Regions from separate parts of the Homo sapiens genome. Here all the other regions are linked to region 2. The links are contacts of gene promoters, found by promoter capture Hi-C in blood cells and fetal thymus (Javierre and others, 2016). All regions are on one chromosome and are shown on one strand. Each heading gives the region's core, a stretch centred on a gene start or on the middle of the fragment in contact. The rest is flanking DNA. Distances are from core to core; before and after follow the strand shown. Region 1 overlaps SYT16 (synaptotagmin 16). Region 2 holds the start of TMEM30B (transmembrane protein 30B). Region 3 has its middle 14 kb from the start of SIX1. Region 4 overlaps SNAPC1 (small nuclear RNA activating complex polypeptide 1). Region 5 holds the start of MNAT1 (MNAT1 component of CDK activating kinase). Region 6 holds the start of SYT16 (synaptotagmin 16).

Region 1 (4,301 bases), core at 1,478-3,977, 580 kb after region 2:
ATTTTCTGTGCTCTGTCCATTCGTCCTTCTACCCTTTCTAACCCCTGGCAATTACTGATATTTTTACTGTCTCCACAGTTTTTGTCTTTTCCATAATGTCATATGGTTGGAATCATACAGGATATAACCTTTTCAGATTGACTTCTTTCACTTTGTAATATGCATTTAAATTTCCTCCATGGCTTGTCATGGGTTGATAGCTTATTTCTTTTTAGCACCGAATAATGTTCTATTGTCTAGATTCACCACAGTTTGTTTATCCATTTACCTATTGAGGGACATCTTGGTTGCTTCCAAGTTTTGGCAATTATGAGTAAAGCTGCTATAAACATTCATGTGCAGTTTTTTGTGTGGACATATATTTTCACGTCCTTTGGGTAAATCCTAAGGAGAATGACTGCTGGATCATATGGTAAAAGTGTGTTTAGTTTGTTAAGAAACTTCCAAACCGTCTTCCAAAGTGGTTGTACCATTTTGCATTCCCACCAGCAGTGAATGAGAGTTCCTGTTGTTCCGCAACCTCTCCAGCATTTGGTGTTGCCAGTGTTCTGGATTTTGGCTATTCTTATACATGGTATCTCATTGTTTTAATTTACCTTTCCCTGACAACATATAATCTGGAACATCTTTTTACATGTTTATTTGCCATCTGCGCATCTTCTTTGGTGAGGTGTTTGTAAAGCTCTTTGGCCCATTTTTCAATCAGGTTGTTTGTGTTCTTACTGTTGAATTTTAAGAGTTCTTTGTATATTTTGGATAACAGTTCTTTATCAGATAGTGTTTTGCAAATATCTTATTCCAGTCTGTGGCATATGTTCTCATTCACTTGACTTTCTCTTTCACAGAGCGGAAAGATTTAATTTTAATAAAGTCCAACTTATCAATTCTTTCTTTTGTGGATTGTGCCTTTGCTGCCGCATGTAAAAAATCATCACCAAATCCAGATCATCCAGATTTTCTCCTATGTTATCTTCTAGGGGTTTTGTAGTTTAGTGTTTTACATTTAAGGCTGTGATCCATTTTGAGTTAATTTTTGTGAAGGGTGAAATGTCTGTCTAGATTCATTTTTTTTTTGCATATCAATGCCCAGTTGTTCCAGCACCAGTCGTGGAAAAGATTATCTTTGCTCCATTGTATTGCCTTTGCTCCTTTGTCAAAAATCAGTTGACTGTATGTATGTGGGTCTAATTCTTGGCCCTCTGTTTTATTCTATTGATCGATTTATTCTTTCACCAATGCTACATTGTCTGTAGTTTTATAGCACGTCTTGAAGTTGGGTAGTATCAGTCCTCCAACTTTGTTCTTCTTCAATACTGCATGGACTATTCTGGTAATTTGTTCTGTTTTATGTGGAGGAATATACTTTTGTATGAATAGACCACAATTTGTTTATCCATTCACCAATTGGTAGACTTGGGGTTGTTTCAAATTTTCCACTATTATGAATAAAACTATTACGACCCAGGAGGAGGTACTCCCCTTACAGGCTGACGTTGTCCAACGTGAGGAGGAATTGAATTCCCTGAAGCAGAAGCTGGCAGCGGCCCTTTTGGCGGAGCAGGAACCGCAGCCAGAACGACTGGTTTCGGTGTTGCAGCTGCCGCGGAAGGCCGCTGTGTTCCAAGATGAGATTCTGCGCTCTAGCCGGCAGTTAGTGCTGCCCGAGCTGGGCGTGCACAGACACGTGCTAGTCGTGGGCTGCGGTGGGCTCCGCTGTCCACTGGCGCAGTACTTGGCAGCGGCCAGCGTGGGCCGCCTTGGCCTTGTGGATTATGATGTGGTAGAGATGAGCAACCTGGCCTACCAAGTGCTGCATGGCGAGGCACTGGCTGCACAGGCCAAGGCCGCTTCGGCCGCCGCCTCGCTGCGCGGCCTCAATTTGGCGGTGGAATGAGTGCGGTACTCTCAGGCCCTTTTATGCCGGTCCCTACCCTAGACCCGCTCCGCCGATATGATGTGGTGGCGACTGCTCGGACAACGTGTCCACTCGCTACCTGGTTAATGACGCATGTGGCTGGCCGGTTGGGCCCTAGTGTCTGCCAGCGCCTGGAGGGCTAAATCACAGTCTACCATTATGACGGTGGGCCTTGCTATCGCTGCATATTCTCCCAGCCACCCCCGGCGGAGACAGTGACCAACTGCGCGGATGGCGGGATGCTCCGTGTCTTAACCGGGGTCCTGGGCTGCCTGCAGGCCTTGAAAGTGCTGAAAATTGCTGCGAGTCTGGGCCCCTCTTACAGTGGCAGCCTGTTGCTCTTTGATGCCCTGAGAGGGCATTTCTGCTGTATTCGGCTGCGGAGCTGCAGGCTCGACTGTGCAGCTTGCGGGAAATGGCCCACTGTGACTCATCTGCTGGACTATGAAGCCTTCTGTGGCTCCTCAGCCACCGATAAATGCCGCTCCCTGCAGTTACTGGGCCCAGAGGATCGTGTTTCTGTCACTGACTATAAGCGACTTCTGGATTCTGGGGCACCCCATCTGTTGCTGGACATCAGGCCTAAGATGGAGGTGAGCATCTGTCTTTTGCCTCATGCCCTACACATCCCTCTGAACGCAGGGATGCGGAGAGCCTGAAGCTCTTAGGAGAAGCAGTCCGGAAAGGGAAACAGGGCACACAAGAAGGGGCTGCTCTCCTCATTTATGTGATTTACAAACTGGGAAATGAATCACAGAAAGCCGTGAAGATCCTCCAGGCCTCATCAGCAGCTCAAGAGTTAGACTATTTAACAGTTTGGAATATTGTGGGGGACCTCATGGCCTGGGCTGCCCAAAACGGTGGAACATTTCCACAGTACTAAGGTGACTGGTATAGTCTGATGGGAAAGATGTGGATTGCCGTAATACCGCAAAGATATATTTATTTGCATTTTTCAGTAATATACATAGGAGCTGGAGATTCTACAGTATCTGTGAATACATGGACTCCTTTTTTATAAAGAGTTTTAAAAATTGTTATATATTGGGTGACTTATTAATGGATTATACTGTTTCTGGGAATCATCATTTTTTTTCAGCACATGGAGGGTGTCTTGAACATGTGAGATGTAATGTGACAGGATTTTGTATTTAAGCTGCAGATCATTTACCTGTCCTTATTTTCCACCTCCCCCAGTCAAAATGCTTTCTAAATCATTTTATATCTGGAATTAAGGTGCAGTAAACTTAGTCTTACGAAATTGATCACAGATTATATACTTAGGATCAGTTTACTGTTTACTTAAGAAATTATTGGATCTTATTAATATTTCAGATGATAGAATACATCCTACAGAAATACATGTTTAAAATGTAAGTTGTTTTAATTATTCAGAAAGTGGGTCATTCTATTTGGCATTTTGAATTAGTATCAAAATGAGATCTTTAAAGTTTACCAAAATAAAGGAAACCACCTTTGTAGTCTGAAAAAAAAAACTATTATGAATACTCGTGTATAAGTATTTGTGTGGATACATGCTTTAATTTTTCTTGGGTAAATACCTAGGAGTTGACTTGCTGGGGCTGGGTTATATGGTAGATGGGTACACATTTAGCTCTACAAAAAATTGCCAAAAAAGGAAGAGGAGGGTGGGGGAGAAAGGAAAAAATAATTGCCAAAATGTTTTCCATAGTGGCTGTACCATTTTGTATTCTCCCTAGCAATGTATGACATTTCCAGTTGCTTTACATCTTCTATTATACTTGATATCATCAATTTATTTTTATTTTTGTCATTCTCATGGTTATAACAAGGTATCTCATGTTGGTTTTAATTTGCATTTTTCCAATGACTAATGATGTTGACCATCTTCTCATATGCTTATTTGCCATCTATACCTATTCTTTGGTAATATATGTGTTCAAATCTTTTGTTCATTTAAAAATTATGTTTGTCTTATTATTGCATTATGAGGGTTCTTTAGTGTGCATACAAGTTCTTTGTCAGATATGTATTTTGCAAATACTCTCCTGTAGTCTGTGGCTTGCCTTTTAGTTTTTCTAACAGCATGCTTTAAAGAGTAAAAATTTTAAATTTTGATAAAATCCAATTATTTTTTCTTTTATATTTAGTGCCTTCTGTGTTCTACAGAAGAAATCTTTGCCTAATCCAAAGTCAAAAGAATTTTCTCCAATGTTTTTTCCTAGAAGTTTTATAGTTTTAGATGTTACATTTAGATCTGTGATGCATTTTATATTTTTGCTTATGTTGTGAGCTAAGGGTCTAGGCTCATTTTTTTTTTCATATGCACATGTAATTATTTTAATAGCACTTGTTGAGATTATCCTTTCCCGGTTGCATTATCTAGGCATTTTTCCTGAAAAGT
Region 2 (3,943 bases), core at 47-2,546:
CCTTGCAAGAGTTTTGGCAAGAAGCAGGAGGGATCCCTGGAAAGCCGGAATCACTCCTCGTCGTCGTCGTCCTGGTCCTGGTAGCGAATGTAGACGACCAGCATGACAAAGCCGGTGAGGATGCAGAGGGAGCCGACGACCAGGTAGGCGATGCCCAGGAAGGGGTTCTTGCCACCCATCCACGAGATGCTGCTGAAGATGAGGAGCTTGTGGCCGCCGAACGCGCGCACCGGGTAGTTGTAGGTGATGTTGACGCGGTAGGCGCCCCGCGGCAGCCCGGCCGAGTAGTTGCCCTGGCGGATGCGCGCGTACAGTTTGCGGAACGTGGGCAGCGCCGCCGTGCGCATCCACACCACGAAGTCCTGATTGATGAAGCCGGTGTTGTTGGGGTCGGGGCTGAGCTCGTAGACTGGCCGGCGCCAGTTGGGCGGGGGCGCCGTGCCCTGGAAGGCCAACGCCAGGCTGCCGTTGACCAGCGGCGGGTTGCGGAACTTGACGTGGTAGTCGGTCCACCAGGCGATGCCGGAGCGGTCGAGCGGCACCTCGACGTAGGGCCCGCCGGGCTGGCGCTGGTGCCAAAGCGAGAAGGAGTCGTTGAAGAGGCTGTTGGCGATGGCGCCGCAGGGCGCGATGGGCAGGCCGGCCGCGCTGCGCTGGTAGGGGGCGCACTCGTTGACAGGGTGGCGCAGCGCGCTGGGGAGTCCGCTCAGCTGCGCGTCGTCGCGGGACACGCCGTAGCGCCGGTTGTTCTGGTAGAAGTTGGTCAGCTCGTAGTAGAGGTACACTGGGCCCTGGAAGAGCTCGGGCAGCGAGAAGTACCAGGCGCACGAGCAGGGGGGCGGCAGCGCCCGGCCCTGGCCAGCCGCGGCGCACACCGAGCAGTTACCGGTGCCCGGGTCGCCTGTATAGTCGTACTCCAGCTCCTTGATGCCGTTGGAGGAGTAGTAGAGGCCCAGGCCCAGGCCGATGAAGGCCAGGCCCGCGCAGAAGAAGAGCGGCAGCGCGATGCTGGCCGACAGCAGCGGCTGCCAGGCGGGGAGGCGCTGCTGAGTGAAGGCGGTGTTGTCGGGCTGGTGGGCGCCCCGGGCCGTGGCGCTCCAGGTCATGGCGGCCGCGCGGGGACCGACGCGCGGGCTGACCGAGTGGGGGCCCCGCCGCGGGGCGCCTCCCTCTCCGCGCCGCGCAAGCCCGGGGACTGCTCGCGGGTCGGGTTTCCCGCCAGCTCAGGTGGGTTTTTGCCCGGGCCCCTCCTCTGCCTCCGTCACAGGTGAGTTTAGTTCCAGGCCCTACGAGCAGTGCCCACACCCTCCCAGTTCCGCCTCCGCCCAGGTGCGCTGCACCCCCGCGGGTCACCGGGAGCCGCACCTCGCCCGCCCCTTCCGAGGTGAGCAGGTGGGTGTTTTTTACCTCACCTGGTAGACTCAGTCTCGCGTTTCCTCTCAGTCCAGGTCATCGGACTCCACCTCCTCTCCTAGGTGAGTGGCGGCCCCGGGCTGCCTCTGAGTGGCTCCTACCTGGCTCAGGTACCACCTTCTCTTCCGCCTTCCAAGTGACTAGAGTTCCTGGGCCAGTCTCCCGAAATCAAAAGGCGCTCCGGCCTCCAGCAGAAATTTTTGCTGAGGGCTTGCACCGTGGTCCTGGAGGCTTGAAGATTTCAGATCCTTAATCCTCTGTTATTTGCGGGGAAAAGGTGGCTCTAGACCATTTTGTCTTTTAGGTTAGCTTCACAAACCGCTTTCGCCCAGCTTTCAGTCTCAAGTTGGGAGTGTCCAGGGAATTACGTTATGATAAATCTGTTTCGAATTCAACGCCTGCGTTCAAATTTTAGCTTTTTTTTTTTTTTTTTTTTTTTTTTTTTTTAAGGGAAAATGATTTTCTGGCCAGATCACCCAGTCTGGCTGTATAACTAGGAAATGTGGAAAGTTCTCTAAAAATAAAATCATCCTTAAAAAGAATCAAAGGCTGGAGAGGTTCAGAGCCTTTAAATAACTCTTAGCTGGTGTGGAGAAACCAAGAAAGGAAAAAATGTGCTGGACTACATGTGATTTCGTTTTCTTTTCAGATTATTTGCCTGACTAGAGAAAGGCCCAATCCAAGGTCCCAGGAGACCTAGCTGCTATCCACAAAAACATCTGGAGTGTCTGGCCTAAGGAAGTAAACTACAAGGATTTATAGGATTTATTATAAAAAGAACTCAAATTAGCTCCCTATGTTGCCTGGGATTCTGGCTTTTTTTTTTTTTTTTTTAAATCTAGGTTGGTAAAACATATACAAGGGGGTATTGGGACGTTCTGATTTCTTACTAAATCTAAATCTTCCCTAGGTATTGTGTTCTTGCTTCTCCTCCAGCTTGTAAAATGCAAGTAATACAAATGTTTTCTCTATTACACTACACCTAGCATAATATATTATATTCAGGAGTCATTCAAAACCCATTGAACTTGGAAAGTTAAAATCCTTATTAAATTTAACAGAGGAATGTTGTTAGCATCTTCCAAGTGTTCAGTCCTATGCTAATTAGACAAAAAAGGACCTTTGACCTCAAGGCATTTGCAGTTTGATAGGGGACATATTAGGAGTAAGAAACAATCAAAATAGCCAATAATAGCTATGAATCATAGGGTGTAATCAAGTATCAAATTGCATTCTACAAGTCACATTAAAATTAAAAAGTAATATTGATTTAATAATGGAACATTGATTCCAGTTTGTTAAATGAATGCAAGTTGGAAACCAGGTATTATAGAAGACTGAGGGAAATTCAAGTGACTTGAATTTCAATTCCCTCACTTCTTATCATACCCAAAGAGAGGAAGTTCCAAAATTCTCAGCAAGTTCCCACAGTGTGATCCAGTCTCCAGTCACCCTTTTTTTCAATAAAAGAATAAATAGTTCTTTGTATCATTATGGTTGAGTTCCACCCACCCGTTTCATTGAATCACTAGTCCACAAAACTCGTCTCTAGGAAGGAATTCAGTTTTCACAACTTTTGTAGATTTTTTTTTTTTTGAGAGAGAGGTGTCTCCCTCAGTTGTCCAGGCTTGTCTCAAACTCTTGAGCCCAAGAGATCCTTCTGCCTCAGCCTCCCAAATTGTTGGGATTATAGGTGTGAGCCATCACACCAAGCCTATCTGGTAAATCTTAAGTCTTTTTTCTAGTAGATCACCACCACACCCCTAAAAGGGCAAGCCCCATTCTTGAGCTCAGAGCCTTTCCTCCTTTTCTCCTATTCCTGGATGGCCTAAAGGTACTAGTTTATTCATTCCACTAATTAAGGTGACAGATTTTCAAAGTCAAAAGAGAATATTTCAAGACAAGGAATGGTCAGCAGAGTTAAACACAGCTGAGGGTTCAAGTGAGATAAATGAAAAGGAATTATGGGGTTTGACTTTTGTGGGAACACTTTGGGTGGTTTGTGTGGCAGGAATGAGGTTACCATCAGGTGCAGGGAAAGGGAAGCAGATAGCAAGATAGGAAGACACTCTTTTTTTATTTTTATTTTTATTTTTTGGAGATGAGGTCTTGCTGGGCATGGTGGCTCATGCCTATAATTCAAGCACTTCGGGAGGCCAAGGCAGGAGGATCACTTGAGCCCAGCAGTTTGAGACTAGCCTGGGCAATATAACGAGATCTTGTTTCTACAAAAAATAAAAACAAATTATCTGGGTGTGGTGGCATGTGCCTGAGGTCCCAGCTACTCAAGAGGCTGAGGTGGGAGGATAGCTTTAACCAGGGAGTTATGATTGCGCCACTGTACTCCAGCCTGGACAACAGAACAAGACCCTGTCTCAAAAAATAAAAATAAAATAAAAAAAGAGAGAATGGGGTTCTAAAGGGGAAAGCCTGTTTTTAGAAATGTGTGGAAAGGGAAGGAGAAAGGCAAGTGATAACTGTCTAGAAGAGCATGTATCCTAAAGGAAAGGCTTCTTTTTTAGATGTCAGA
Region 3 (4,537 bases), core at 451-2,950, 620 kb before region 2:
CTTGCTACATTTTCCAGGCTGGACTCAAACTCCTGGGCTCAAGCAATCCTCCCACAATAGCCTCCTGAGTAGCTGGGACTACAGGCATGTGCCACCATGCCTGGCTACTTGTCAACCTTTTTTTTTTTTTTTTTTTTTTTTGAGACGGAGTCTCCCTGTGTCGCCCAGGCTGGAGCGCAGTGGTACAATCTCTGCTCACCGCAACCTCTGCCTCTGGGGTTCAAGCGATTCTCTTGCCTCAGTCTTCTGAGTAGCTGGGATTACAGGCGCCCGCCACCATGACCGGCTAATTTTTGTATTTTTAGTAGAAACAAGGTTTCACCAGGTTGGCCAGGCTGGTCTCAAACTCCTGACCTCAAGTGATCCCCCACCCGAGTCTCAGCCTTCCAAAGTGCTGGGATTACAGTTGTGAGTCACCGCACCCAGACCTTGTCAACCCATTTTATCTGTTTATATATACCAGATTCTGATTCTTTTTCCAGTTTTTTCTTTTTTCATAAAGGTTACATATCTTGTGCTTATAAAATTAACTTTAAAAATAACACAACAATGTATGCTAATCGGTTTCAAACAAGTAGACTCAATGATACTTTGAAATCCTTTTTCCTACTCTGCAAATCGAAAATATTGGAACAATCTTTAAACATTCTCTTGAGCCAACTAGGGGTTCCTCATTACTAAAGAATTTAATGATGGCGATATGCAGATAGGTGTTGGTTTTGCTTTGTGTCTAATCAGATTCTCAAAAATCCTTAATTTTGAATGAGCAAAATTTTAAAATAACAGTTTTGCATAATTGCAACTGAAACTATAAATGGGAAGGATGATTTTTACAACCAAATGACATCAAGTAAATAATTTATTTCTAATCACTTTGCTACATTAGGGTTTACTGCTAATGAGCTAGTGGACTTTGTGATACTTTAGCTAACCCAAGGCACTTGAGGCTTTGATGACCCAAATGGTTTAGTAAGTTCAATCAATCTAGTCAATAGAAAGTGAAGATAAAGATGCACGCTGTGGTCTTAGGGAGTGCAAGTGCATGCATATGTGTGTGTGCATGTGTGTTTGGGAGGGAGATTATGTTGCTTTTTCAATTTTAAAGTTCCCCAAATACTCCAGGAAAATTTATGAGCAGATTGCATCACTCTAGTAAGCCTGAAAAAACAAGAAGTGAAATACTTCAAGAGGCAGATTCATTAATGATAGGTTAATAACTCATTAACAGCCTATACAAGGAATAGTAATAATTTTTTTTCTTTTTTCTTTCTTTTTTTTTTTTTTTTTTTTTGAGGAGTCTCACTCTGTAACCCAGGCTGGAGTGCAATGACACGATCTCAGCCTCACTGCAACCTCCGCCTCCCAGGTTCAAGCGATTCTCCTGCCTCAGCCTCCCAAGTAGCTGGGATTACAGGTGCCTGCCACCATGCCCAGCTAATTTTTGTATTTTTAGAAGAGACCAGGTTTCACTATATTGGTCAGGCTGGTCTTGAACTCCTAACCTCAGGTGATCCACCCACCTCAGCCTCTCAATGTTCTGGGATTATAGGTGTGAGCCACTGCACACAGCCCAATTTTCATTTCTTTTACCATACCTCATTCAAGAACATGTAATATTTTACAAGCCTGATCTCATCCATCTCAAAATTTTGGGAAATATCATCCTTATTACAAACAGTGATTATCTCTATTACAAAAACATAGCAAGAGCTGGGCACAGTGACTCAAGCCTGTAATGCCAACACTTTAGGAGGCTGAGATGGGAGGATCACTTGAGCCCAGGAGTTCAAGACCAGCCTGGGAAACATAGTGAGACCCTGTCTCTACAAAAAAATTTTAAAAGCCGGGCATGGTGATATGTGTCTCTGGTCCCAGTTACTGCAGAGGCTGTAGCCAGAGGATTACTTGAGCCCAGGAGTTTGAGGCTATAGCGAGCTATGATTGTACCACTGCACTTCAGCCTGGGCAACAGAGCAAGACCCTGTTTAAAAAAAAAAATCCAAAACACCGTGGCAGAGAGGTCGCATAATTTGCTTAAGGTAATATAATTCAGAGGCAGTTTGGGGGCAAGAGCTATAAATCCCAGATCCTTCCCAATTTATTTAAAAGGCAATTTTTCGCAAAGAGGTCAGTGATTAAAGTGACTTGGATTTAGTGAGTTTTTGTAAAATATTTTTCTCCTCTATAATTCAGGGTCAAGATTTGTGAGAAATTTGATAAATGTCTTTAAATTACCAAGAAAAACGATGTAACATGAAGTGGCATCAGCCCACCTAGATCTGGTAGTTCTTCCATTCTGTCTGGAAGTAAGCCATAGTCTTAGTTGGTACAAATGTCATGTGGGAGGAGACATACAGATTACAGAACCATGAGGTAATTACTACAGCTTAACTGTCCCACACAGAAGCTATTAAGTGATCATAAACAGAGTTACAATAGAATACACATTCTATGACAAGATTTGGCCTGTACTTTTAATGCTTACAATTCTTTCTTTGGCTTATTGAGGAGAAGAAATATAAGATACACTAGAAATTAAGAATTTGGTTGATCTTTAGGGCAATGCTTCACAAACTGTAATGTACATGCAATTGACCTGAAGCATTTATAAAATACAGTTTACAGGACCCTGCCCCAAGAGTTTCTGATTCCCTCGGTTTAAAGTGGGACCATGAAATCTGCATTTTAACAAGCACCCCAGATAATTTTTTTTTGAGACAGAGTTTCGCTCTGTTGCCCAGGCTGGAGTGCAATGGCACGATGTCGGCTCACTGCCACCTCCGCCTCCCGGGTTCCAACAATTCGCCAGCCTCAGCCTCCAGAGTAGCTGGGATTACAGGCGCTCGCCACCATGTCCAGCTAAGTTTTGTATTTTTAGTAGAGATGGAGTTTTACCATGTTGGCCAGGCTGGTCTCAAACTTCTGACCTCAGGTGATCCACCCACCTCAGCCTCCCAGAGTGCTGGAATTACAGGCATGAGCCACCGTGCCTGGCCGCACCCCAGATAATTTTGATGCAACTGGTCGGTGGGCTATCCTTTGAGAATAAACATCCACTCTGCCTAAGAGTAGAGCATAACAAATCAGCAGGAATAAAATCTAAACTTCAAATTTTTACCTAATCAAAATTTACTTTTCTTTGTACCATTCTAAAGAGGACTTGTAGATTAGATTTTTGGCAGGATGGGAGGAGAATCTTTGGGTTTCTGAAGAATTTTGTAGGAATTAAAATGTTTCTAACTAGTAATTAGGTATGAAATCATTTGTCCTTTTTAAGTGATTGGTCTTGCTAAATGAGATAGTAGGAAGTGACACCAGATCAGGAGTGACAAGAAAGAAAAACCTCTGAAGAAAATCCAAGCACCGTTGCAAAAATTAAGCAAATCTCATCATCCAATGAACACTGCAGAGTATCCAGTATTGCTAGCTAAATGCCAGCTTAAAAGGCCAAAAATTTTTAAACATCTCTTCATTGTACATGACCCCTGTGGAATACTGTGACTCAATTAGACCTGCCCTCCCTCAAGATTTGCAAGAAATGGAGAAGCTCTGGAGAGTTGTCACAATATGATAAAAGGAGTAGAAAATAGACTGTATGAAGAAGTTAAAAGTGGTTGTCCAGGCTGGGCACAGTGGCTCACGCCTGTAATCCCAGCACTTTGGGAGGCTGAGGCAGGCAGATTACCTGAGGTCTGGAGTTCAAGACCAGCCTGGCCAAAATGGTGAAATCCCGTCTCTACTAAAAACACAAAAATTAGCCAGGCATGGTGGTACGTGCCTGCAGTCCCAGCTACTTGGGAGGCTGAGACAGAAAAATCACATGAGCCCGGGAGTCAGAGGTTGCTGTGAGCAGAGATCACACCACTGCACTCCAGCCTGGGCGACAGAGGGAGACTCCGTCTCAAAAAAAAAAAAAAAAAAAAAGTGGTTTTCTACATTGCAAATAGAGGTCATTTTTTGCTTATAAAGGTTTATAAAGGGTTTTTATAATAAATAACATAAATCACAGCTTCTCATTTATAAAAGATATTAAATACTGAAAAAATTAATAATCATAATTTATAATATTTTCCCTTTAAAGATAACTTGAAAATGAGATAATAGAAACATAGACGCCAGACTCTTTGCTGTTGGAAGAGGCTGAGAAGTCAATTGGCAGTTGAACCTGCCAATCTTAGTAGAATCCTTTAGAAAACATTCTTGATGGGACAGCCCTCAGCTCTGCTTAAACACTTGAATATTGGAGACCTCATTATTTCACATCTGTCTTGCATATTTCAAGACACATCAAAACAAGAAAGATGTGCATGGTGATCATAAAGTCACATGGAACCCATGATCCTGTACAAACTAGATAAAATGTGAGTAACGTGGAGGGGCTCTTCTAATTACTTGTTGGTCAAGTAGAAAATAAACTGTACTAGCTAAACTGCTTTCTCAAGTTTCCATTTTAGGTATTTCTACTGTTTGCCCACTGCCTAGTAGACTGCTGGAGTTCACTATAGGAAAAGTAAATATTGTCATTTCAAATAAAGCA
Region 4 (4,308 bases), core at 510-3,009, 510 kb after region 2:
AAGAACTAGAGACTATTTTCAAAGTATAAATACAAATATGTTAGTATTTGAAAAAATATAGGTATTCTAGAATGCGTATTTCTGTTACCATTACAGTTTCAGTTTTTACATGTCTAATTTTTATGCTGTAATAATGACAGTTTTTGTAAAATGTTTTCTCAAAGATTATAATATTCTTTGCTTTCATATAAAATCATTTTCTAAATATTTCTAGGCAATGTGCAGAATATACACAAGGAAGATAAACCTTTAAGTCTGAGTATGCCTGTAATTACAGAAGAAGAAGAGAATGAAAGTTTGAGTGGAACAGGTACAGATAAAATTTGGTCAAACTAGTCAAGTAAACTAACTTATACTCGTAGAGCATCAAGGTTTAGAACCCTTGAGGAACATGACAGTTTGCTGTGTGTTCTTGTGATCCTTTCATCTTTGACCCATTGGAGAATTTCAGTATTAGTCATATCATTAATGACATCTCAAAGTCAGGGATAATACAATAAATGAATGGTATGGATACCCATTAGGTATCCTATCAGTTTCATCTTTGTAGAGATGTCTCTGTCAGACCTCTGACCTGCTTTCATCTGGACAGTGTTCCAGTACTTCTAATCCTGACTGCTGCTCTCTTCCAGGAATTTGTTTTCTTTATTTTTTTTTCATGAGACAGGGTCTTGCTGGGTTGCCCAGGCTGGAGTGCGGTGACTTGATCACAGTGACTTACTACAGCTTCGACCTCCCCGGCTCAGGCTATCCTCCCCTCCCGCCTCAGCCTCTTGAGTCACTGGGACTGAAGGCACATGCCACCATGCCTGGCTAATTTTTGTATTTTTTGTAGAGACAGGGTCTCACTGTGTTGCCTAGGCTGGTCTCAAACTCCTGGGCTCAAGTGATCCACTTGCCTCAGCCTTCCAAAGTACTGGGATTACAGGCATGAGCCACCGTGCCTGGCCTAGGAATTTGTTTTCATCTTAATTTGTTTTTTTTACTTGTCTTTTCTCTTTTTCTTTTTCTGCCATTTCCCTTTTGTTTTTCACTGGTGGGGAATATTTTTTTTTCTTTTCTTTTTTTCTTTTTTTTTTTTTGAGACAGAGTCTTGCTCTGTCACCCAGGCTGGAGTGCAATGGCGTGATCTCAGCTCACTGCAAACACCATCTCCCAGGTTCACGCGATTCTCCTGCCTCAGCCTCCCAAGTAGCTGGGATTACAGGCACTCACCATCATGCCCGGCTCATTTTTGTATTTTTGTAGAGATGGGGTTTCACCGTGTTGGGCAGGCTGGTCTTGAACTCCTGACCTTAAGTGATCCGCTTGCCTTGGCTTCCCAAAGTGCTGGGATTACAGGTGGGAGCCACTGCACCCGGCCGGAATATTTCTTTTTGCCACATCTTTTGTAATTTTCATGTTTTTGTGTTTTCTATTACTTTCTTTGCTTTTAATGATCAGTAAACTTTAGGTTCGTGCTGTTTCTAGATGGACAATTATTCGAGTGTTGGTTCTGGCATCTCCTGTGGTAGCCAGAATGATGTGTGGTACTGGTGTTTTGGGTTACATTTCTAGGTTTAATTGAAATGAAATTGAAATCTTAGTCATTTTCTTCTTCTTAGTACTGGCCTAAATACCTTTGAGATCTAGTACCCTGGGTTCATATAATTATAGGGAGGGTGTACCCATATGAAACAACTTCACAGTAACTTATTATTAATTAGGATTTAGAATGACTAAGGGCCACTATCTCAATAGATTGATATTGCAATAGGATTGAGATCTTACTACCTTAATGGAGGTAGTATTTTTTGTTGTTATGTGTTTTTTTTGTTTGTTTGTTTGTTTTGAGATGGAGTCTCGCTCTGTCGTCCAGGCTGGAGTGCAGTGGCACGATCTTGGCTCACTGCAACCTCCACCTCCTGGGTTCAAGCAATTCTCCTGCTTCAGCCTCCTGAGTAGCTGGTACTATAGACATGTACCACCACGCCCGGCTAATTTTTTGTATTTATTTTAGTAGAGATGGGGTTTCACCATGTTAGCCAGGATGGTCTCGATCCCCTGACCTCATGATTCGCCCACCTTAGCCTCCCAGAGTGCTGGGATTATAGGCGTGAGCCACTGCACCTGGCCGATAGTATGTTTTAAACTGCTGTATCATTTTGAAGAAAAAATTCTTGAATATGTCAGGTTTAAGATTTTTTTGTTGTGTCTTTGCTGTGAGGGCATTCTTATTGTGTTGTACCAGTTAGACGTCTATGTAGTTGAAATGTGTATTATCAATTAGGTATTATCATGTAAGTGTCAGTTGTTTTTTTTGTTTGTTTTTTTTTTGTTTTTAGATCTGACTGACTTTTAAACTTTATGTCTTTAGAGTTCACTGCATCCAAGAAGAGGAGAAAACACTGAACAAAGAGCCTGGTGTAGTTTTTAATTTTGAGTTTTCTGACAGAAGAAAAGATTGATATTTTGTGTATTGAACAGGAAGACTGCCAGTATTAAAAAAATCCTTCTGGGAATCTGTAGGTTATTTCTTGGAAATTGCAATACGTAGTTCTAGAATAAAAGTACAAAAAATTAGAATAAGAATTCTTTAACATTTTCTTTAATGATTTGCATAAATGGAGATAAAACTTGTATTTAGTATGTAATAGAAAAAATTCTGTTATTCGCAGATTGTTACTATTTCCTATAAGGTTTTGTGATACTATACTGTCCTAATACAGTCTGGTAATACTATTCTATTTTATTTAAAATATTTTTTATTGAAATATTAATGTTTATTACATGCAAATAACTATTTTGTATCTACAGTCGGATAATGGATTTTTTATTTTGTATATTTATTCTATTTTGTATATTGTTAAGTGCAATAAAGTTTTTGCCTTGCTTTATTTTTTAATACATAAAACTTACATTCTCATAACGTGATTGATAACTTAGGAAGTTCACAATGTATTTTCTACTTCTGCAATTAAATATTCTTTAGTGCTTGTTTATTATTACTAAATACTAATTAAGTACTAACAAGTACTTAAATACTAATGTATTAAGTATTTAAGTACTTTCTAATAAAATCTTTAACAATAATAATGTAAATTTCAGAATGTGTCTCTGGTACAGAATAGTTGATATTAACAGAAAAAAAAAAATCTGTAGCTTCATGAATATGCCACTCTGTTAATTTCTTGTTCCAGACATTTTAATAGAGATTGCTTGAGCCATGTTGTTTGAATTGCTGCCAATAGCAGACCATATCCCTATCATGTTGTTGGCTCAACTGTTTTTTTTTTTTCCCTAATAGAGATGGAGTATCGCTATGTTGCTCAGGCTGGTCTTGAACTCCTGGGCTCAAGCTATCCTCCTGCCTCAGCCTCCCAAAGTACTGGGATTATAGGTGTGAGCTACTGTACCCAGCCTTAACCTGTTTCACAGTTGATTATACTTCATGCTGTTTTCCAGCATGGTATTATTAAGGGATTTAAAGTTTGGGTTGCATGCCTGTAATCCCAGCATTTTGGGAGGCCGAGGTGGGCGGATCACGAGGTCAGGAGATCGAGACCATCGTGACTAACACAGTGAAACCCCGTCTCTAATAAAAATACGAAAAATTAGCCAGGCGTGGTGGCGGGCGCCTGTAATCCCAGCTACTCGGGAAGCTGAGGCAGGAGAATGGTGTGAACCCAGTGAGCCGAGATCGTGCCACTGCACTCCAGCCTGGGCAACAGAGTGAGACTTCGTCTCAAAAAAAAAAAAAAGTTTGGGTTGAAGATCAAATTCGTGATATCTCTATATCTAATCTTTAAAAATCAGAATGCTAATGCTGACGCAAATAAAATTTTCATTTATTAGCATTCATGCAGTCACAATTGTTTCCTTTGATTCCTTTGACTTCAAATATATTTGGTCATAGAGGGGGCAGTTTTCATAATGTAGACATTAGGTGGAGCATCTTGGATTTAAACATTCTAGGGTTGGGGTGTAGATCCATTATTGGCCCCACTTGATATACTAGGTTGTTTGCCAGAACTTGTCTGACTGTTAAAAGTTTATAGACATTGTACAGCTAACACACTGAGTTGCCCTCTCTTTTTTCATAACTGTACTTATAAAATACATGCTATTGTTTCACTTGTACCTCAAGATGGTTAGTGCCCTGCCCCCATTCACAAAGTTAGTAAGTCATGCTTCTGAGTTATAAACACAGGGCTCAGTCTTATAATTTCAGTTTTTTTAAATAAGCCAACACGTGGAAATCCAGAAAGATACTTTTTTAACTATAAGCAGTAAAACTCCACTTCAAAATGGCTTAAACGAGAAGGAAAA
Region 5 (4,139 bases), core at 262-2,761, 550 kb before region 2:
AAACAAACAAACACACAAAAATTGTCCTAGTGGCAATAAACTATAATGCCATCTGAGTGGATGACCTCAATGTAGTATTGGCTAAAAATTTTATTTGCACATATGACATATTCATTCTTTCACCAGAAGTTTCTTGTATGTTATCAGCTGAGCTTACATGACTATGCAGTTATAAAGAAGTATAAAGCACAGGCTATTAAATGGTCCAAAATATAAAGTACTAGAGTTGCCTTTGTTCTTGAAGAGCTTCACTCTGAATCATGTAACTGGTCTGGATGTGGTCTTTCAATAAGACAATAGCAGCAGCATAATAAGCCTCCGGGTCAGCATAGTAGCATAGTATTTGGTGTTACCTATTTTAGTAAGTTTATGTTTGGTTAACTCCTGTTGAGGAACAATATTATGATCAAAGAGATGATATGGTTTATTTATTAGATGAATCCTTGATGTCTTCATACTAATGTAAAGCTCTGTCACAGCCTGCTTTGATCTGCTGGTTCCTGGGTGTGGTATCCAGCTGTTTGTCAGCATCCCTCTCTATACCCATGGAAATCCCAACTGTATTTTTGGGTTTTGGGTTCCCTACCAGGTTCACTGTTTAAAAATGTGAATTGAATATTACTTTTTATTGAAAAGAACACAAGTTCTATGATGAGTTAAAATTACTATAAATGTTTATAGCTTATACTCATTGTATCAGATTATTTGAAAAATCTAGTTTGCATGTTCCCTTCTGATGGAGTTTGGGTCAGATGAAGGTGGTTACAAAAAATGTTTGACACTAAAAATTTTCACATTACACTATTGTTTGATAGTCATTCATTAATTCTTCACTTAGTCTACTTACTCATTAAGAATCAACAAATCTTTATTTTGGAGATGAATAAGATGTGTCCTTTACAGTGGGAAAGCTTATTATTTAATAGAGCTGTTTACAGACTTCAATTTGCCTTCTTGATAAATGTGATGAACATGGTTTACAATTTACAAAGATATTCAGGCTATCAGATCTTGGAATTGCAGAACTAAATTTTTCTGTATGTATTCTTATATGATTTTTTCCTAGGTATTTGGGGAAATAAATACTGTCTGATGGAGTAGATAGCTTTTTCATATTTTGTATCTGCGAATGCATATTATCAGCTGAGCTGACATGACTATGCAATTATAAAGAAGTATAAAGCACAGGCTATTAAATGGTCCAAAAGAAAGTAAGTACACCGCTCATAAATCTTTGAAATCATGGGAATGTTTCCAGACAGAACAAGATGGAATTTATCTTCCTAATTGTGACACAGTACCTTGAAAAATGCAACTGGGTGCGTGGAGATAAGGCTTTGTATAATTTGCCATTTTAAAAGTTCCCCTGTCAAATTCAAGGTATTAAGTTGCTTTATGGAAGGCTAAGACCAAGCCCTAGATGCAAGACCGGGGGAACTGACTGCCGGAACGTTTGTGTTGCAGCGCCTCGCCCCTTGCCGGTGCTCTTTCGCGAAGGGACCGTCTCTGCCAAGCGCCTGTTGGTAGGAACCTGCTTGGTCGCGTCTGAGGGGGCTTGTAGGTGGCTCTGGCTGAAACAGGCGCCTGCGAGAGTCTGTAGGAGGGAAACCGCCATGGACGATCAGGGTTGCCCTCGGTGTAAGACCACCAAATATCGGAACCCCTCCTTGAAGCTGATGGTGAATGTGTGCGGACACACTCTGTGAGTTGGGCGGCAGTGGATTCCCTGGGGGAGAGACGCGCTGGGTGGGAGGAGAGGACCGGGAGATGCTAGGCCTCGTCTTGGGAGCAAAGGGCGTTGTTAGTTTCAACACTGGGGAGGAAAATGGGAAAAGAAGGCGTTGTGACTTTAAATAGACTGTAGCCGCTAGCCCCGAGCGGCTCTGGCCTGCTTTGAACTGCGGGTTCTCAGTGTGGCATCCAGCAGTTTGTCAGGTTCCCCCTTCCATAGCCAATGAGTATCCCGACTGTATTTCCAGGCTTTGTGTTGTTTACTGGGCTCTGGACATCGCTGATTAAAAGCGTGGGGGATTGGAGTGTTTATTTCATATGAAATGTTTTTATTGAAAAAGTGCGAAAGTGCTATGAAAACTTAAAATTTGCTTGAGTATATACTGCTGCTATTTATTGTATGAGTTAATTAAAAAACCCTGTGTGTATGCCCACTTGTCCTGATGGAGTTCGGTTAGACTCCCATCACTAAAATGAAGAAAACCCGGACTGTAGGTAGTTAATTTTGAAGATATAATAATGGCTGGCATTTGAGTGCACATTTTGTGCCAGACAGTGTTCTAAGCGCCTTACCATGAATTATCTCAGTTCATTCCTACAACAGTCCCATGAAGTAGATACTGGTATTTCCATTTCACAGGGAAGGAAATCGAGACTGCTCAAGGTCCCTTATTAAGTGGGCCTTGAGAGAATTGGAACCCAGGAAGTCTGACTTTAGAACGCCCATTTTCAGGGGAAGGGGGCAGAAGGAGGGAGGTTGAGTTTGTGTATTTTGAAACAGGGATTGGTCAAAGTGTTTCTTGCCAGATTTCTTGTCAGATGTGGTTTAGTGAAGGTGGTTCTAGAAAGCACTTTGAGATAAAAAGGTGCCATGTAATGGCGAGCATATATTCCTGTAGTTTCTTTCAGGTTTATTGGAGGCAAAAAATAATGGATAATCTACAGTGTGTAGACAAGGTCTCCTCCCAACCCCCCAAGTGCTGACAAAAATGTAGAGCAATGACAGGGTCTTTAGGTAAGCATAAATTGCATGATTAGCTGTAGCTATAATTATTATATGGAATTTATTAGCTTACTTAACTTTTCTAATTGATCTTTATTTTCCTTTGCTTTACTCTGCAAAGAAGTATAGTAGAGCTGTGATTGAATGATTTAAGATTAGAAGTAAGGTAAAAGTAATCAAGAAGAATGCATGGAAAAGGGAATTCTACATGGAAAAACACTGTAGATAGACTGTTTTTAGAGAGATTTCGTTCAATTTCTCTCCATTTTTCTTTATCAGGTTTGTTATGGTGGAACAGGAAAGAGAGTTTGTTTTTTTTTTTGGGAAGGATACTAACTAAATGTAATTTACCAGAAGGATGCTAAATGTAATTTTCTGGCCTAGCAGCACTTAGCCATTCAGGGAAGATTATACGATTTCAGTAACATAAATGGCATTTTAATTGGGCAAGTATAAAATATTTATTTTAATTGAAATTGCTTTTGTTGTATCCTCAGCCCTTTTTGTTAAGATCTAAGAGTTAAGACTTTTGTCTAATTCATTCTGGTGTTGCATTTAATGTGGTTAATTTGCTAACCTGTTAGATAACAGGCTACATTTTACAGTCCTTTTTTGACTTGAAATGTGAACAAAATGAGTGAAAAGCTGTAGCGTATTGGCTGAGAGAACAAGCTTTGGAATGAGCCTGTCTGATTTCACATTCTTTACTCTTACCGGCTCTGTGGCCTTAGGGAAATGACTAACTCTTTGTTAGCCGTTCTTCTTGTTGGTACAATAGAGAAAATAGTGCTGCTTGTATCACGGTCCTTAAGTATTAAATAATATATGGAAAATATTTAGAGATATTTAGTATTCTGTCACATAATATTTGTTTACTATATATTGGCTATTTTATTATTATTATTCTTTGTGTGGCATGGGTGATAAGCAGAAATAAAATTAAAACAGGACTTATTTGGCCTGCTATGAAATACTTGCACAATAATGATTAGCTTTAAATGATTTCAGTACACTATGAAATGTGAAAATACAGCTTTAATTATAAGGACTCTGTTGTAATTTTCTTAATATGAACTCTTTAGCATGTTGTCTAATTAATCATCCTTTTAAAGAAGTACTTTAATCTAGGCTAACACACTGCTGTTTCTGAATGGAGGAGAGAACTCACTGATTTTTTTGGCAATCATTTAAAAAATTTAAAATTATATAAGCTATTAATAATAAAAGCAACGTAAGTTATTAAGTGAAAGGTAAAAATTTCTGTGGTTCACTTCTCCAGAGGTGACAACTTTTAGGTTGTTTGTGTATATTTTCGGATATTTTCTATGCATATACAAACATGGGTGTGTTTGGGTAGAAAACTTTTTCTTCCTTTAGCATAAACAGGAATATAGCATAAACATAT
Region 6 (4,302 bases), core at 1,732-4,231, 530 kb after region 2:
GGGCGAAATGTATTGTATCTTTAAGAAGTATCTAGCCTGCCATGTAATTTAGGGGATGTGTTTGAGCCATTTGATCCTTCACATGATGGATCTGGTGGTGGAGACGGGGGTTTCTAATGTACAACTGTCCCCTAATATATTAGGTTGGTGCAAAAGTAATGGCAGAATAATCCAATAATCCATCAGAAATTGGTTTTTGGACTTCAAGAAGATGTATACAACATCATTCTGAACTGACAGCCTCAGTTCAGAGCCCTCCTGAACCACAATGGCCTGTGAGGCACAAGACTCCGGCTCACTCATTCGGCCTGGTCCACTTACTTACTCTAGCGTCCATCCCTAGTCAGTGGCAGGGCTGTAGTTGGCTATGATCATGTATCAGTTGCTCATCCAGTGGACGTCCAATCAGTTAGTTGGCCATTCATTCATTCATTCATGCAGGCATCCAGTTATAAAGACATCCATTCACCCACTCAACAGAAATCTGCTGAGAGCCTACTACGTGCTGGGAACTATTTTCACATCGGAGACAAAACAGAGGGTGACATGAAGAGCACGGCCCACTTGGAGCCTACGGAGATGGCGTTGAGCGGTTTCGCAGGAGAGCTCCTGCCCCGGAGGATTAATGCCCAGCACCTGGCTCATCCTCCCCACACCCCTAGCTCTTCTCCCGCTTTGCTCCTTCCAGCTGGGGCTGAGCATGGGGTCCCAACCCCGCTGGTGAGAAGCTCGAGGTAGGGATGAAGCGGAGAATGGAAAAGGTGACTCGAAAACAAGGATATAGCGGGAACGTTGTAGGAAAGGTGGCGTGGAGAGGCGACCCTAGCGTGGCCGGGAGCGTGTTTCCAAGTTGCGGCGAGCATCCTCTTTGGGGGAGGGGCGGGAAAGGAAAGGAGGGGAGGGGGACGGACGCGGCGAGGCGAGGAGGGGGAGATCCAGCCTCTAGGCGCCGCAGCTCGGCCGTTCTGCCCGGGAGGCTGGGCTCTCAGGACGCCGGCGGCGGCCGCAGGGCTGGCGGCTGCTGGGCGCGGGGCGGCGCGGGGCGGCGCGGCGCGGCGGGGGCGCGCGGCAGGAGGGGCTGTGCGCGGCGCGGCCCCCGAGCGCACCGGGCCTGCCGAGGAGCGCGCGCCCGGCCGGGCTCGGCGCCGGTTTCCCGAACCTGGGCGGCCGTCGGGCAGCCCCCTCGTCCGACCATGGCGACTGACAGTGAGTGCGCTCCGGCCGCGGAGGCCAGGGGTGGGGGGAGGCCGCGGTGCCCAGGGTGGGAAGTTCGATTTCAGACGCTGCCTTTGTGCTGGCTCGCGGCAGCAGCGGCCGGGTCCCTCTCCGCTCCTCACCCTTGGCTGCCTGGCGGGGCTTGAAAGGGCAGGTGGCCCTGGCGGCGCGCCCCGCGAGGGATGTGGCAGAAGGGCGTGCGCCTGGCGCCGAGGCGGAGGGACCCTCGATGCCGTGTGGCAGCGGGGCCTGCCATCGCAGCCCTTCGCGGGCACTGCCCCCAGGCCCAGAGCCAGCCTTCAGCGAGCCGGGCAAACGAAGGCACTGCGCGTTTTTGGCGCTGTGAGTTCAAGGTTCGCCTCGAGTTCTGGGTCGGGTTTGTGCGTCTGCCTTTTGGGGATCAGGGTGGCTTGCATGGCTCGGCTGCCCGGTGGCCCACGGGCTGTATTCGCAGCGGGCAGCACAAGGCCGGCTGGAGACCGCATCTGGTTACCATGGTCAGTGGGTGGGAGGAGTGCCTGGAGACATCAGGTTGAAACTCTGAATGGAAGCGTTGGAAGGCGCTGGGTTGGCCTGCTTTTGGCATCTTGGCACCGCTGCTCTTATGGCTCAGTGCCTTTGGAAATTGGAATCCCGTCTGTGAAAACTGGTTAAGTTAGTTGCGTTTGAAGCCAGATACGTATTAGTGAAGCTTCAAAGGGAGTTCAGAGTAAAACCAAGTCACACCTGCGTACCTAGCATCCAAAGTCCCTAGCACAGGTGTGGCGCATGTTAGGGACTTCATTAGATGAGTGAATGGGGCTGGATGTGCTGGCTCAGGCCTGTAATCCCAGCACTTTGGGAGGCCGAGGCGGGAGGATCACTTGAGCCCAGGAGTGCGAGGCTGCTGTGAGCTATGACCCTGCCATTGCACTCCAGTCTGGGCCACAGAGGAAAAAAACAAAAATCAAATGGTGTGCTGGCTACAGAGGCCCTTTGGAAGGTATTTTTTTTTTTTTTTTTTTGAGAGGTGAGGAGGAAAAGAGATGGGAAAATGAGATGTCAAAATTTCTGCAATAATTTATTATTTTTCTTGTAAACAATCATCCCAGCCAAGAACACAGCTTTAGGATAGTGTGGAGAGCTTGAGTTTTTGTAGTCAAACAGACCTGTATTTTATCTCTCTAGAATTCCCTAGCAGTGGGACCATGGCACTGTCCTCAGTTTCTCTAAATTAGGACAAGGCTGTCATTCATAGCTCTTACAAGCGATGGGCACACAGGTGGCCTTCAGTAAATGGTGGTTGTCCTCTCCCTGCTGTTTTGCCATCATCTGATATGTGTGGGGATACCAACATGCTTTCCTCCTTTTTAAAGAGAAAAATGTTGATCAGGTGTTTCCAGTAAAATCAGCTAATTTGGGCCAAATTTCCCTTTCCTCAGCTCTGTTCATTTATACAAAGTGTGATTCCATTCGTGTGTGTGTGTGTTTAGAAAAAAAATTATGGTTGAAGCTTTACTTAACAAAGTAAGACTCAACAAAGAAGGAGATCATGAGATTTGGCCTTATTGTGTTATTAATGAAAAACAAAGGCAAAGGGGTTCAAAGTATCTACCAGCAACTGTGCATCACACACATGCAGTGAGACACTGTTCTGCTATTTACTTTCTTATGTTTTGGTTAAGATGATACATTTAGTACCCTAGAAAAATAAACTGAGATGCTTCCATACCAATTTATTTAGATTGATGTTTCTTCTACTTCCTTATATGGTATACTCAACTGTACTGAAGAATCAAACTTTTGCCCATTGATTTTGTTTATGAAAAAATTATGATGATATCTGACCATCTCAGCTCTTGACCAGTTTTTTAGGCTCAATCTTATGTTCTTTCTTAGCTGAGATGGAGCTAGAAATCTGAAAGGTTTCCAAACTGTGGAGAAACATTATTTTGTCTTTTTTCTTATTCAAAACTAATGTGAGAGGCTTACTATGTGTCCCTACTATCAAAAGGGAGAGAAGGAAAGTATTCTCAGTCAGTGTCTTGAAAAATTTCCCGCAAAGCTTGACCATGTTTGCAGCCCGAAGTCCTACAACCTTCTGTTAGCATGGAGATGATTTTGAAAACGTAGAGCCCAGGGCTTCTCCCAGATACAGAATTCTTTAGTTAGCTCTGGTTCTTAGTCCTAGTTGCATATTAGAATTACTCCAGAGAGCTTTAAAAAAGACCCTGACATCAGTATTTTTAAAAAGGAGGTCTTAAACTTTAACATGCATCAGAGTTACTCAGAGGACTTATTCAAACAGATCGCTGGACTTCACTCCCAGAGTTCCTGATTCAGTAAGTCTGGGGTGCATCCTGAGAATTCACATTTCTAACAAGTTCCAGTGATACAGGAACTACTGTTCCTCTGTCCTTCTCCTTACCTCTGCAGGTGAGGAAGTGACAGGTGAGAGGGAGGTAGGAACAGAGTGATGATCACTTCTTTAGCAGTCCTGTCTTGTCACCATGCAGTGACTACATGACCTCGATAAGATAAATCAAACCTGGGCACAATATTGCCTTAGGGCTATAGCTGAGTGCTTCCCTCAACCCCCATTTTTCTCCCCCACAAAATTTCCCCTTGAGGGAAAAATTGGTTCTAAAACCAGGCGAAATCCAAGTATTCTATTCCAGTCATTTCTGGAGAGAATCCAGAAAGACCTTCTATATGAATGTAGCATGTAAATTATATAAAATATGGAGATATTTTTAAAATATTTGCCTGGAAACTTATAATGTTCACAAAAAAGAACATAGCCAATAGAAAATGTTCTTATATCTAGATAGCATGCTGTCTAAGGGCAGATTCCAGAGGAGAAAAGGGGAACTCGAGAGCTTCAACTAGGTTTTCAGTAAGTTATCATGAAATCGTGAGGAACTTTGAGATCCCAGTCTGTTATATAAAGTGGTGGTACTTGGGTACTGAACTATTTCATGATTTCCTCAGTGACAAGTATTCCAGATAATATTTTGTTTCCAGAACACAAAAGTAGTGAAGCGCTATTTTATTTTTTTATTCCATTTATGGCATATGTTGCATTATTAGTACTTCCTTTTATAGGTG

The links. Contacts are between HindIII fragments. The CHiCAGO score rates a contact against its expected background, and 5 or more counts as called.
Region 1: a fragment that was not itself captured here is called in contact with the fragment with the promoter of TMEM30B in region 2 in 2 of 17 cell types (activated CD4 T cells and monocytes); the score reaches 7.3 in activated CD4 T cells.
Region 3: a fragment that was not itself captured here is called in contact with the fragment with the promoter of TMEM30B in region 2 in 3 of 17 cell types (M1 macrophages, M0 macrophages and M2 macrophages); the score reaches 5.8 in M1 macrophages.
Region 4: a contact is called between a fragment that was not itself captured here and the fragment with the promoter of TMEM30B in region 2, in 6 of 17 cell types (naive CD4 T cells, activated CD4 T cells, naive CD8 T cells and 3 more). The highest score is 9.2, in naive CD4 T cells.
Region 5: a contact is called between the fragment with the promoter of MNAT1 here and the fragment with the promoter of TMEM30B in region 2, in 1 of 17 cell types (M2 macrophages). The highest score is 6.6, in M2 macrophages.
Region 6: a fragment that was not itself captured here is called in contact with the fragment with the promoter of TMEM30B in region 2 in 9 of 17 cell types (activated CD4 T cells, fetal thymus, total CD4 T cells and 6 more); the score reaches 10.7 in activated CD4 T cells.

Annotation. Positions count from the first base shown.
Region 1 is chr14:61,862,751-61,867,051 of GRCh38, forward strand. All of the region lies in intron 1 of SYT16 (synaptotagmin 16), which reads left to right. It also overlaps the pseudogene MOCS3P1. Among named protein-coding and RNA genes, the nearest start is that of SYT16, 52 kb to the left of the region's middle. The HindIII fragment of the contact is 8,411 bases long and covers 1-4,301 here.
Region 2 is chr14:61,280,042-61,283,984 of GRCh38, forward strand. TMEM30B (transmembrane protein 30B) reads right to left here and starts at 1,297. Exons shown (of 1, transcript NM_001017970.3): 1 at 1-1,297. The coding sequence starts at 1,106. The coding sequence ends at 51. It also overlaps a transcript of PRKCH not described here. RefSeq lists an enhancer at 1-722. The HindIII fragment of the contact is 12,699 bases long and covers 1-3,943 here.
Region 3 is chr14:60,660,813-60,665,349 of GRCh38, forward strand. No RefSeq gene overlaps it. Among named protein-coding and RNA genes, the nearest start is that of SIX1, 14 kb to the left of the region's middle. The HindIII fragment of the contact is 7,553 bases long and covers 1-4,537 here.
Region 4 is chr14:61,792,593-61,796,900 of GRCh38, forward strand. SNAPC1 (small nuclear RNA activating complex polypeptide 1) reads left to right here. Exons shown (of 10, transcript NM_003082.4): 9 at 215-310; 10 at 2,357-3,836. The coding sequence ends at 2,391. Among named protein-coding and RNA genes, the nearest start is that of SYT16, 18 kb to the right of the region's middle. The HindIII fragment of the contact is 8,237 bases long and covers 1-4,308 here.
Region 5 is chr14:60,733,250-60,737,388 of GRCh38, forward strand. MNAT1 (MNAT1 component of CDK activating kinase) reads left to right here and starts at 1,512. Exons shown (of 8, transcript NM_002431.4): 1 at 1,512-1,702. The coding sequence starts at 1,614. RefSeq lists enhancers at 1,526-1,625, 1,736-1,805. The HindIII fragment of the contact is 2,495 bases long and covers 910-3,404 here.
Region 6 is chr14:61,811,605-61,815,906 of GRCh38, forward strand. SYT16 (synaptotagmin 16) reads left to right here and starts at 1,099. Exons shown (of 8, transcript NM_001367656.1): 1 at 1,099-1,206. The HindIII fragment of the contact is 552 bases long and covers 2,706-3,257 here.